3 separate regions of the Homo sapiens genome follow, and regions 2 and 3 are each linked to region 1. The links are contacts of gene promoters, found by promoter capture Hi-C in human tissues and cell types (Jung and others, 2019). All regions are on one chromosome and are shown on one strand. The core of a region is centred on a gene start or on the middle of the fragment in contact, and the rest is flanking DNA. Distances in the headings are between cores, read along the strand shown. Region 1 holds the start of CCNE2 (cyclin E2). Region 2 has its middle 20 kb from the start of LINC01298. Region 3 has its middle 28 kb from the start of LINC02894.

Region 1 (4,507 bases), core at 539-3,038:
CTTAAACGATTCTTTTCCCAATAATGCTGGTTTCAAACGCAATCACTATCTCCAAAGTGCTGCTTTCTGTAAAACACATAGGAAGAAGAGGTACCAAAGGGCTGCGTGCCAGGCTGTCAGTGATCTCACATCCTATTTATGCCCAAGAAGCAGCTATTAGGACCGTCTACTAGAGTCTGCGAGGGAACAAAGAGCAGTATATTGGACAGATTAGGCGGGCCCTGGTGCACCAGGCAGTTCCAAGAGGGAGGGATTTACAAAAAGGAACCAGCTGCTTGAAGGCACTTATTCTGCAGCTGTAGTAGGATTCGGGCACATAGAAACCACCCAAAGATAGGCGCCTTCCTGCTGACCTCTAGGGGCATTAAAAGTAAAAGTGTCAGAGGAATCTATCGCAAAGCAATAAACACATAATTCTATTCTTATTCATCTATCCTCCATTTTTCCCCCAAACCCACCCAGCCCAGTTCTGCATTACCCTAATTTCATACTGATGTTTCTTGGTGACCTCCTCTCTTCTTTTTTTGACATCCTGGAAAATAGAAAAGACCATTGGTAAACTAAAGTCCCAGCATGGAATTTCGTTCCTCCCTCTTTCTCCTTAAATCACCTGGGTAGTTTTCCTCTTCTTGGCCTGGATTATCTGGGCTTCTTGGGGGGATTCCGTCTGGCTGGGCTGGGGCTGCTGCTTAGCTTGTAAACGGCTACTGTAGTGAATTTTTAAAAAGGAAGTGTAATTAGTAAGTTAAAGGCAGCAACTAATTTGAAACATGTCTCTAAGACAGATAATGTTACCTTCGTCTTGACATTCTCTTCTTTCAGGTGTATAAAACCTCTGAAGGGGGGAGAGGAAAAGCCGCAGTCAAGTACATTGTCATTCACATTCTCCAAGTGCCAGTAAGACGCTGATTCGCAGGTGAAAGCTCAGTCCCTCCGAAGGGGGCCTGGGCCCTGTGACCCTGCCATCTTCTGTGCTATGTTAGCTAGCTCATGGTAATTCATTTTGGATACAAGCCTGCATTTCCTCAACTGAATGTACAGCTGGAACGCGAGTGTCCAAAAATTTACCAAGCACTCCTGACACCTTGAACGCGCAGGGAGGCACATCTTCCTCAAACGGGTTTTTCTGGGTCCTCCACCCTCTCCCCCGTACACCGGGAGTGGGGCTTGGGCAGCGCCCCCACGTCCCGCCTCCCTCCTGGACCAGCGGGGAGAGGGGGTTGTGGAGGCGAAATGCTGTGGAGAAGCCGGTTCCGCGCCAATTTGGAGAGCGGCGGTGGCGGGGAAGCAGGGGGCGGAGGAACCAAGACTGGTGTCACGGCCTCCAGTCTCCTTTCCCTCCTTCCCGGCCCTGCCGCCCTACCGCCGCTCGGAGGGGCGCCGGGACCCCAACTCCAGATGGGAAGCGGAGGGCGTGGGGGAGGGCAGGAAAAGGAGCTAAAGAAAGGGGAGACTGGGCTGGCTGGGAACTTTTCTCCCCATGGAGGGGACCCGGCCTCCCATCCTCTCTCCCACGGGATAGCTCCCCAAATGAGGGTGGGATAGAGAAGCCCCTAGAATGAGGGGCGGCTCTCCATGCCCAGCCGCTTCCCGGTCCCCTGCCAAGGTTCCTGACAGGGACGGAACGCGGGAACCCATGACCCCCAGTCGTCTAGTTCTCAGCCCTCCCGATTTTCCTCCCTGAGGCTCCCGCCTGTGGTAAGTGATCGGCCCAACTGGGCTTTCTTTCCTCCCACATCCCCCCTACGCGCAGCAACTCCTCACCGCCAGACCAGCTACCGCTCGGCTCAGCTGGCGCCGGCGCCAACCCAATATATAGGCCGGGCCGGTCCCGCCCCGCACGCATGCGCCTCAGACTGACACCTCCGGACAGCGCGCTCCCCTCTCCCGCCCGTCCGCCCGCGTGCCCGCGCGCCGCGCCCTGCTCTCAGTGCGCGCCCGCCACCCGGAGCGGCCGTGGGGTCCACTCTACCGGGCCTTCTGCCCGCGTCCACCGCGCTCCACGGCGCGGCCGGCGGCGGTAGGGAAACTCTCAGGGGCTCCTTCTCCGCGGCTGTTCTCCCCGCCGCCTGGCTCGCGCATCTCCCGCCAGTTTGCTTTTGCTTCCTCCCACTGCAACTCCTGGATTTCGGGGGTGTCAGCCTGCGGCTCAGCCCGGGCGCATAACAGGGGGACACGACTCGGGCGACCATAGGGTGGCTGGGAAGTGACCGTCCAGGGGCGCGCCCTAGCTGTCCCGCCAAGGCCTCAGGGAACCCAGGTCTTTCCTGAGCGACGCGGGGACCCGAGGGCCCGCCCCTCGGGGAGGAGCAAAGCGTTGGCTGAAGAGCTGGCCAATGGGAGGCACGGGCGGCAGCACAACGTGGAGTGGCTGCAGAATGTAAACACCACTCAGCCACGCGCCTGGCCAAGTGCGGCTCTGCTCTCCCCAGTCCCGGTCCGCGACCACCCGGAGCCCGCTCCGCCGGCCTTGCGCGGCGCGCCCAGGGAAGGCATTTCCAGCCCGCCCACCCAGGTATGTATCAACCCTGCTTTCCGGCTCCCTGCTCCCCCTACCGGGTTTCCCTCCCCATGGGTCGGTCGCTCCCCCAACCCGCCGCTCTGCCCCTGCAGTGGCCTCCAGCTGCCACCCCGCAGTCCCCGCGCAGGAAACGCTCGCGCCACGCCGCGCCCTCCCTTGCTTCCTCTCTTCTCCACCTCCAATTCCGGGATCCCAGAGGGTAAAACCCCTCTCCGGAGCGGGGCCCGGGAACGGCATTCCTCCTCCCCCTGAGCGCGGTGGTCCCCGGGGACCTGGCCGGGTGGGAAGAAAGATCGCCACCACGTGCAGGCCCCGGGCCCGCCTGCCGCGCCCCGCCCCGCCGCCGCCGCCAGCGCGCCCTGCGGAGCCCGCGCGAGCCGGCAGCGCGGGAGGGCGCCGTTCGCGCCCGAGCGCTGTTGGGAGGAGGGGGGCCCGACGCTCTTCCTTTATCCTTCCCCGGGTGTTTAAACTTAGGGGTCCCTTCGCTGCCTCTATGAATGCCCCCACAACTGGCGCACCCCAAAACTGCACATCGTCAAGTCAGACTTGCGGCGGGTATTCCGCAAACAGGTTTTGCGGCGGGAGCAGCGAGGCGGGGAACAGCTCCGGGAACAAAGATCCCCCGGGTGGAGGAGCAGTGCGAAGGCGTCTCGGAACCCGCGGTAGCTCGGGCGGGCCGCGTCTGCCCAGGCCCTGAGCGAGCCGGACGGCGAGCGGGCCGCGCCGGGGAGACGGAGCCTCGCGGGCGGGAGCCCTTCCCGAGATGCACCGGGAGGCGGCGCCCGGCGACCCCCGCTCCCGCCCGGCCTTTTGTGCTGCGCCGCTCGAGCGCGCTTGAGGCCCGGGAAATAGCCGCCGCCGGATGGGCGCTTTGGGGCGGGCGAAGTCCTTTTTCACACTTTTTCGATTCTTCGTCTCGTGACGCCGGCAAAATAATTCTCTCCCTAATTTACCTGTAGGAGCTTTGCCCAAGGTGACAGCATCAGGAGAAGCCCATGCCTTGTCAGTCCCAAGAAACTTTCTGCCATTTCTAACGCTTAGGATGGCTCTCGGCGGGGCAGAAGTTGCCTCCCTTTTGCAGTCACTCAAAACGCAGTTAGCGGTATAGCTAGCTTAAAGGTCTAACAGCATGATGTCAAGAAAAGGGGTCAGGGGTCTCCCAACAAGGGTCACCTGATCGTAAGCAGAACTGGTGGCCCTCGTGGTTGAATTTGATAAAATATACTGAAAACCAGTATGTCGAGTAACGTTTGTGGGAATCATCTTTGAATGATGAATGTATGCTCAGTACTGAGTTAACTAGTAAATTGATTTTAAAAGACACTGCTCTTATAAATGTTCTTTCCATACCCTTGACTATTATGTGAACAGAATGCAATCATAGTAAAGGAGAAATTAGAAAATTCCAAGACGTCTTTGTGTGGAAAGGAATAGAGTGAATTCTCCCATATTACAGATACCTGGTCAATAGACAAGTGGGTCTGTTAAAAAAAGAGAAAATAAAGGGTAGGGGGCGGGTATGTTTGTTTTTAGCTTGCTCTTTTCCTACTTATCCGTTTTAAAATTCACCTAAAGTATATTTCCCCTATTGTACATGTAAAGTTAAAACACCATGGTAAATAAACTGTTGGCCTCTACCATGCTTCTCTGGGGTAACTATTTTGATTGCTCCGACATTCATTTTCAGGAGGAAAAAACCCCAGAAGATGCTTGGAGGCACAGGCTTAAAAAAAAAAATTCAGGCTTAGCCCACCCATTTCTTTATTCTGTGCCTTTTTTTTTTTTTTTTGTATATCTCCTCTGTCGAAGCTTCACAGATCCTTTTCCCTGTGCTACAGTTATGCTCATCTTACAGGACAAAAATTACTTATTTAAATGTCTTTTATTTCCAACTCGACCTCGGAAATTGTTTTGTTCATCTTTTTATAGCCAGTATTCAGCAGTTCAAAGGCATATATAGTAGGACTTGGGTAAATGCTGATTTGA
Region 2 (4,507 bases), core at 1,345-3,844, 340 kb after region 1:
TCCTCCTGTCTCGGCCTCTCAAAGCGCTGGGATTATGGGCATAAGCCAGTGTGTCCAGCCAGAATTACCATTAAATTTGACTCAAGAACCAACAAAAATGTTTGAACCATTATTTTATCCTATTCCCTGTGGTTTCCTGTATATTTCAAATATTTCATGATAAAATATATTTTAAACAGTCAATAATGCTCAACAAACACAGACTCTTTCCATGCCTTTAGGAAAAATATTAGTCGCTCTTATCCATAGTTGTACTAATAGCAATTGACACAATCTTGTGAAAAGGTAATTTGGCAATATCATCTGAATTAAAAACATGCAAATTCTATGACCAAGCAATCCCTGTGTTTTTGGGGTGGGGTTTTAACAGAACTACCATTTTATTATACATCTCACAATTCTATGAACCATGAAACCAGACAGGCCTGGTGCAGCAATGCTTCTGCTCCACATCAGCTGAAGTCACTTGCTGGTGTTTGCATGGCAGATTGGCAGGTCTGGAGGGCCCAAGATGGCTTCACTGAAGTTGGCAAGAGTGGGCTCCACTGGCACTATCCACCAGAATGCCCACATGTGGCCTCTACGGCATGCTGATCTGATTAGTTGAATTTGTTGCAGGGCAGACTACATCCATGGCCTTGCTGCTCAAAATATGGTCCACAGAACAGCAAACAGGCATCACCTTGAAGCTTGTTAGAAATGCATAATCTCTGCCTAGCAGTACCACTTTTAATAATCTGTTTCTAAGGAAATACTAGCAAGCATGTGTACCAATATATGTACAAAGATATTCCCTGAAGCATTTTTTATAACAGGAGAATACTGAAACCAAGATCTCCATAAACAGAAGAAGGGTTAGAGAACTCATGGAACACCCACATCATGAATACCACAAAGCCATTCTAAGAAATATGTGTATATTGGCCAGGAAAGACGGCCATGATATGCTGTTTAGTAAAACAAAAGCAAATGGCAGGATAATATACAGGACAGGACCCATTTTCGTTAAGAAAAATATTTCAGTAAATATCTCTATCATCTATCCATCCATTCATCCCCAAATCTGGAAGGACAGACACTAAATGAGCAGTGTTTTTCTCTTGGGATAATGGAGGGATTTCTGCTTTTTATGTACTATATTTCAATGCACAAAAAAGTGAGAACATGAAATAATTTTTCATTTTGTTTTTCAGTCCATCAAAAAAAGCAACAACTATTAAAAACAAAACCAAATCACTGTACTCTGGAAATATTTGTGCTGAACAATCATGCTCAAAGGTCATGAAGATATGGTTTCCTGGTCTCAAAAAGCCCATCAGCATTAACCCACTTGCCCTTGCGATTTCCTCTCTCTGCTCACCAAGGTCGTTACCTCGATTTTCAACCTTTCATTGTGAGTGAGGAATCATTTCATTGTTTCTCTTTAACTTTAGATCCACTTAGATTCCTTTAAGTGCTACGGAATTGATTATTTAAGTGAATCAGTTAGAAGGTTCCAATTTTTCTTTCCCAGAAAGAAAGCTCAAGCCCACAAGCTTACGCTCAAGCTCAAGCTCACAAGCTCAAGATGACAAGTGCTTCTGTGTAGAAAGGGCTGGTAAACTTCCCTGGAAAGATCCTAATATTTGGTGCCTATCCTTTTCTCCTAAAAGCAAAGACAGGGGGTTTACGCTAGGGAGGATTTCTATTTTCAGCCAGAGAAAAACATTTACCTCCACCACTATGGGATATTGTTAACAGCAGGCAGATTTGGATGAAGTGTTCTGGGTGCTTTTCCTGAGAGACCAAAGCCCAACAAAGAAATGAGATCTGGTCCTCAGTGTAGGTCTGCCCGCTATGGGTTAGATTCTCAACTTGTTTCACTGTTTGGAGGGCTCAGGATGGTGGGTCTTTTACAACCCTGAGTCCCTGGAGACAAATTTGTCTCTTTCTTCTTCGCTGTAAGTCACTAACTCTACCCCTGGAAAGGCTGCTTCAGGACCTCCCTCCTTTGCTGGGTCCCTCAGGCCTGAGAAACAGCCAGAGTTGGGTTCAGAATGTGACTTGATGACGCAACAGCCGACCTGAAGTTGCAGTAAGAATTATAGACCATAAAAGAGACGTTTAACTGAATTGCTTTTTTCCCCCTATCTGGAAGCAGTATGTTTCCAGCACAAGCATTGACACATAGGTTAGCAGTTTCCATTTTGGTCACATTACAATCAATGATGAGCAACAGGGGGATGGCCACTGTTGAATTTCACTCAGTTGTGAAACAGCCTAAACACACGGACTATGCCTGTAGTACTTGATGTCTGGTACTGAGCAGAGTCAAAGACACCTTACGTAAAAGACCAATGATTACAATGCCTTAGGAAATGACCCATGTTTTGCCAACCCTTGCTCCTGTCTGGTGTCTGGCACCTCTGGGTCCACTGCCATGCCTAGCACAGTGCAGGTGGGCATTTAAGTGAAATGGTCCTCGCTTTGAAGGCTCTCTTTAAATCTGTCACTTTGAGCCTCCTGTTGTAAGATGAAAGTTGGTGGGAATTAAACATTTTAAGGCAAAAAAAGAAGAATGTTGAAGGAAAAAACCTATGTAGAATCATGGCAGAAAGCCATCTTTAAGGTATGCATTTTTACATTGTACAGAGATCTCAGCAAATAATTCACACGTATTAAGTAATTACTATGTGCCAGGAGCCTCGCTAAATGCTCTACATAGATTATCCCATCCACTTCCTCCCAGCATCACTCTCTGTGAGGTGAGCATTCTTAACCCTGTTGCACAGGCTGGGGAGAAGAGGCTTAGGGAGGATGCGTGGCCTGTAGAACATCACATGCCACATAAGGTATAGGGCCAGTATTCAAATCAAGGCAGTCTAACCCCAGGCCTGTGCTCATAACCTCACACAATGCAGCAGCCTGTTAATGTGAGACTCTGCTTATTAACAGGGGCAAAGGCAAGAAGTGGCCTGGAGCTCCTTTGCCGAGGACGTGGTGCTGAGCATCATGAGTGCACACATTATCTGTGCCTTCAAGGTTGGGGGCAGGGTCATGGGCCATGCAAATCCTTTCCTTCTCACTCCCTTGATTTATCACTGGACCTAGGCTATTTCAGAATAAATTTGTGCTAGTAACCGAATACAATACCTAAAACTGTTCCTTAAAATCTGAGTGGAAAGAGTGGAAAGAAGTCCTTTAGTGCATAGTCAGCTGTGGAGGAAAACCAAGGCCAGATGGAAGGGACTTGAAAAGCGTTTGTGGGGTCCTTCCACCACCAGAGGCTGAGGCTATAGCTATTTATGATAGAATATACCTTACTCCATGGGGAAAACTCTTGTCTAATCCCCCATCCCTCAAAAAATTATGTAAGGATAAAACATTATATTCTTTGAGAGATCTTTTACAATTTTTCCTACATACCTGTGAATGTCAATTTTACTTGACTCTAAGAACTTAAAATGGTTTCTATGTTATGTACTTTCTTTATTTTTTCCATCCACTTTCTAGAGTCCTGCTTTCTATCTAACATTGCTAATAAGTGCTGCTCTTTGCAATGGAAGATGGTGCCAGTGACTCACTTTCTAGAGGGCCACGCACTCTAAGATACTTCTCCTAGTGGGAGGAATTGGTATTGTCAACCTTTGGAGGCTGTTACTTTTTTCTGTGTAAAGTGAATTGGTCATTAGGGAACTCAAACCTTGAAGTTGGCATTGACTGTTTCTAGGGGACTAAAAGAAACATTGATCATAATACACACTCAACCTAAATGAAATAATCTTTTCTGAATGATTACATTATGAAAAGAGATTCATGGAACTTTTATTCTGGGAGGGACATTAAAAATCACTTAGTATAACCTCATATTTTTATACTGGCAGTAAGGACTCTTAGAGAATTGTTTTTTAATAGGTGAGGATACTAAAGCCCAAAGAGGGAAGTGATATGCCCAAGGTCTTATTGCTGTTAGTGGATTGTAACCCTGGCTGTACTACGCTAGAATAATTGGGAGAGTTGTTGAAAAGTACCGATGCTTGGGTCTCACTGCAGACTAATGAATCAGATTTTCTGGGCCTAAAGCCTGGGTTACTGGCACTTTTTAAAGCTCTCCAGCTGACTCTATCTGAGGCCAGAGTGGAGAAGCACTGAGCTAGACAAGAACCCAGCCCCCAGTCCCGAGACTGCCAGTGTTAGCAAACCCATGGCAGTCTCTCATTCCGCACCCCTGAGCCCATGGCAGACTTGACTCATGGGTCACTGAACTGTTTCCTGCTGTGCCTAACCTGGCCTTCTCATACTGTTCATCTGCTGCCTGTCCATGAGCATTGGGAAGACAACCTGAGACACAGCTACAGTCAGGCACTGTATCTTGGTTCCTCTAAATAAAATCACACAAAATATCTGAAAGTATTATTCTGGTAACACTGTGATTGTATATTCTCACAGTCCAGTGTATTCATCTATTGGTCTGTCAAGGCTCAATGGGGGAATACCAGGGTGAAAGCCCTGTGTGACTCAACTGAGC
Region 3 (4,507 bases), core at 1,145-3,644, 280 kb before region 1:
TGGTCAGATGTAGTGGGGGGCACCTGTAATCCCAAGTACCTGGGAGGCTGAGGCAGGAGAATCTCTTGAACACAGGAGGTGGAGGTTGCAATGAGCCAAGATTGAACCACTGCACTTCAGCCTGGGCTACAGAGTAAGACTCTGTCTCAAAAAAAAAAAAAAATGTTTAAGTTCATATGTTCCTAATGATATCAAGGAAAAATTCGATCTTCATGGCAGGATGCTTGGGAATCAACTCTATATTTTGAAAACTGGTAAGTGAAAGGAAAGACTCAATAATTTATCTTGCCTTTCCTATGAATATACCATGGAGTAGTCAAGTAAGTGATGAGGGGAAGTTTCTTCTTATGGAAGCATTCCAACAATAAATGAAGAAGGATTGATAGAATTGGAATATCATCATTTTGCAACTGTTATGAAATGCGCTACAATGGAAGCTAGCAACACAAAAAGAGAACCAGCCAGATATTATATGCTTCTCGAAGAAGAAGACAACACCTATGCGGGAGTCTTCTTTCAAAAAAATCAAACCTGAATCTGATAAAACCTCTGGATTCCATTATCAATTTGCAGGAAGTACAGCAGGCAGAGAATAATGATAAACAAACTATATTATAAGGTTGCAATTAAGCTGGGCACAGTGGCGCAGGTTTGTAATCCCAGCACTTCAGGAGGCCAAGGCAGGTGAATCCTTCGAGCCCAGGAGTTTAAGACCAGCCCCGGCAACATGGGCGAAACCCTGTCTCTACTAAAAATAAAGAAAAAAAGTAGCCAGGCGTGGTGGTGGATACCTGTAGTCCCAGCTACGGGGGAGGCTGAGGCAGGAGAATGGTGTGAACCCAGGAGGCGGTGCTTGTAGTGAGCAGAGATCATGCCACTGCACTCCAACCTGGGTGCCTCGGTGACAGAGCAAGACGCTGTCTCAAAAAAAAAAAAAAAGAAAGAAAGAAGGTAACAATGAACATAAAAGTCAGGACAGCAAATAGTTTTTGTGGTGAGGGGATTTCTGTTTGGGATAGGTATATGAAAATATGAATGGCTTCTGGAGTGACTGGCAAGATTCTGTCTTCTTTCATGTAGAAAGAAAGAAGAAAACTAACATACAACTTAATAAATTATATAAAGCAAAGTGTTTGCCTTATTTCTGTATTTGTGTTATGTTTTAAAAATTAAAAATCAGGGCCAGGCGCAGTGGCTCACGCCTGTAATCCCCACACTTTGGGAGCCCAAGGCGGGCAGATCATCTGAGATCGGGAGTTCAAGACTAGCCTGACCAACATGGAGAAAACCCATCTCTACTAAAAATACAAAATTAGCTGGGCGTGATGGCGCATGCCTGTAATCCCAGCTACTCAGGAGGCAGAGGCAAGAGAATCGCTTGAACCCAGGAGGCTCAGGTTGCAGTGAGCTGAGATCGCACCACTGCACTCCAGCCTGGGCAACAAGAGCGAAACTCCGCCTCAAAAAACCCAATGCCAAACCAAAACCAAACCCAAAACAAACAAACAAAACAGGTTTAATATGTCTCCCAAAATGTAAAATGATACAACCACTTCAGAAAACTGGCAATTCCTAATGAATTTAAATGTATACTCTATGATGCAGCAATTCTACTCATCAGGTAATTTCCCAAGACAAAATAAAATGTACAACTATGAAAAGAGTTGTACACAAATGTTTATAGTAGCTTTATTCAAAACTGCCTGAAAAAAATCTGGAAACAGTCTAAATGTCCATCCATATGAAAATTAATAAGCAAATTGTGGTATATCCATACCGTAGAATACTATTCATCAGTAAAAAGAACTATTACATGCAACCAGGTGGATAAATCTCAAAAACTTGCTAAACAAAATAAGCCAGACACAAAAAAACACATGTTATATGATTCCATTTATATGAAGTTCAACATCAGGCAAATCTAATCTATAGTAATAGTACTCAGGATAGTGGTTAACTCTGGATGGCAAAAAATTTATACTTCCCACGAAGTTTGGGGGCTTGGAAAATTACATTATAAATCCCTTAGTTTGAGTCATTTTTATTAATAGAAAACTAGTTTCTCTTCACCCTCACTAAGGAAATGTCGAACAAACACTGACAGTATAGCTGTTAACTAGAAGGGGTATCAAATTTTCAATCTGGGGCCAGGCACCGGGGCTCACACATGTAATCCCAAAACTTTGGGAGGTCTAGGTGGGTGGATCACCTGAGGTCAGGAGTGTGAGACCAGCCTGGCCAACATGGTGGAACCCTGTCTCTACTAGAACTATAAAAATTATCTGGGCGTGGTGGCAGGCCCCTGTAATCTCAGCTACTCCGGAGGCTGAGGCAGGAGAATTGCTTGAACCCTGGAGGTGGAGGTTGCAGTGAGCTAGGATCATGCATGCCACTGCACTCCAGCCTGGGCAACAGAGTGAGGCTCTGTCTCATAAAAAACAAAAAACAAAAAAATTTCTGCCAGGTGCGGTGGCTCACGCCTGTAATCCCAGCATTTTGGGAGGCCAAGGCAGGAGGATCACGAGGTCAGGAAATCGAGACCATCCTGGCTAACACGGTGAAACCCCGTTTCTACTAAAAATACAAAAAATTAGCCCGGCGAGGTGGCGGGGGCCTGTAGTCCCAGCTACTCGGGAGGCTGAGGCAGGAGAATGGCGTGAACCCGGGAGGCAGAGCTTGCAGTGAGCCGAGATCGCGCCACTGCACTCCAGCCTGGGCGACAACGAGACTCCGTCTCAAAAACAAAAACAAAAACAAAAAAACATTCTGTCTGTCCCTGGGAGTATCTGTCGTGAACACAGGCTATGGAGAAAAGAAAGGAACATACCGTTGAGGGGGTGAGGTGGTGGAGAGTGTCGCTTGAATGCAGAAATACCTTGCCTTCACCATGCCACAGTTCTCTTTCTAGCCAGTTCTCCTGAACGCCCTTGAGTTAAGAGACTGTCCACCATTTAAGTTCCTCCTGAAAGGGTAGCCAAGGAAGGAGGGAGCTGCTAGGCAAGTGCCGTCTTTCCAGTCAGAGATGTGTCTTACTGTATTATTTAACTTAATTATTATTTTTTATTGTTATTATTAATATTATTTTGGGATGGAGTCTTGCTCTGTCGCCCAGGCTGGAGTGCAGTGGCGTGACTTGGCTCACTGAAACCTCCGCCCCTTGGGTTCAAGCCATTCTCCTGCCTCAGCCTCTGGAGTAGCTGAGATTACAGGCATACACCACCATGCCTGGCTAACTTTGTATTTTTAGTAGAGACGGGGTTTCACCATATTAGCCAGGCTGGTCTCAAACTCCTGATCTCGTGATCCACCCGCCTCAGCCACCCAAAGTGCTGGGATTACAGGCGTGAGCCACTGCGCACAGCAATTATTATTATTATTAGAGACAGAGCCTCACTCCAGTTGTCTATTATGGAGTGCAGTGGTATGGTCTCAGCTCACTGTGGCCTCGACTTTCCCAGTTCAAGCGATCCTTTGACCTCAGCCTCCCAAGTAGCTAGGACTACAGGCATGCACCACCACACCCGGCGAATTTTTTAAACTTTTTGTCGAGACCGGGTTTCACCATGTTGCCCAGGCTGGGCTCGAACTCCTGGGCTTAAGCAATCCTCCGGCCTCCGCCTGCCGGCGTGAGCCCCCACGACCGGCCATGTTTATTGTTATTATTTTTAGAGACAGGGTCTCCCTCTGTCGTCCAGGCTGGAGTGCAGTGGCGTAGTCACGGCTCACTGCAGCCTCGACCTGCCAGGCTCAAGCAATCCTCCCGCCTCAGCCTCCGGAATAGCTGAGATGATGGCTCCTATAGCGGCTGGCTCAGACACGTGCGTTTCCAGTTTCAGCTACTAGAGGGCAGAATTGTGGCAGCAGCAACTGTGAAATGTTTCCAGAAATGGAGACGCTGGAGGTTGAATTAGGCATCTCGCCAACTAAAAAGCAAGAAAAAATACGGGCCAGAAAAGGTACGGGAAGCAAGGGCTGGGCACAGCTGGTAGGCGGAATAAGGGTGTGGACAGACCTGGAGCTGAGGTGGCAGCAGGCTACTGAAGACTGCTGAGCTGCCGCATGAAAGAAACTCAGCCCCCACTCCCACTTCCCCCACACCCTCCCCACCCCCGACCCTGATTTTGCCTCTGACAAGGATATCCAAGGTGTGGCTACTGCAAAATAGGATCTGTAAGCCTGGACGTTTACACATCTCTTAGAGCCGGGTGAATCCACCCAGTGAAGAACAGTCTACGGAGGGATCCTCCCAGGAAAGTTGGAGGGAGACCAGAAGCAAGTACAGACAGAAAATGGGGGTGGCCTGTAGAAATGGAGGTATGATTTTTCAGGGGAGTGGTGGAGAAATTCTCCTCAGTCAGTAAATTAATGTCCAAAATCTTACCAGGCTGCGCTTTCCTTACCTTAAAGCTTTGATCCCAGTTAAAATGAAATGCGCAAGAAAAATGGAATACTGGCCGGGCACGGTGGCTCACGCCTGTAATCCCAGCACTCTGGGAGGCCGAATGGA

The links. The method cuts DNA at HindIII sites, captures the fragments that hold promoters and counts their contacts. A contact is called where the count stands out against the background at its distance.
Region 2: a contact is called between a fragment that was not itself captured here and the fragment with the promoter of CCNE2 in region 1, in 1 of the 25 tissues and cell types used here (lymphoblastoid cells).
Region 3: a contact is called between a fragment that was not itself captured here and the fragment with the promoter of CCNE2 in region 1, in 1 of the 25 tissues and cell types used here (thymus).

Annotation. Positions count from the first base shown.
Region 1 is chr8:94,893,413-94,897,919 of GRCh38, forward strand. CCNE2 (cyclin E2) reads right to left here and starts at 1,789. Exons shown (of 12, transcript NM_057749.3): 1 at 1,765-1,789; 2 at 796-835; 3 at 611-707; 4 at 479-532. The coding sequence starts at 809. It also overlaps a transcript of NDUFAF6 not described here. RefSeq lists an enhancer at 601-1,162 and silencers at 1,779-1,998, 2,379-2,478, 2,609-2,658, 2,829-2,878, 3,159-3,378. The HindIII fragment of the contact is 13,775 bases long and covers 1-4,507 here.
Region 2 is chr8:95,233,752-95,238,258 of GRCh38, forward strand. No RefSeq gene overlaps it. Among named protein-coding and RNA genes, the nearest start is that of LINC01298, 20 kb to the left of the region's middle. The HindIII fragment of the contact is 6,913 bases long and covers 1-4,507 here.
Region 3 is chr8:94,609,215-94,613,721 of GRCh38, forward strand. No RefSeq gene overlaps it. Among named protein-coding and RNA genes, the nearest start is that of LINC02894, 28 kb to the right of the region's middle. The HindIII fragment of the contact is 7,585 bases long and covers 1-4,507 here.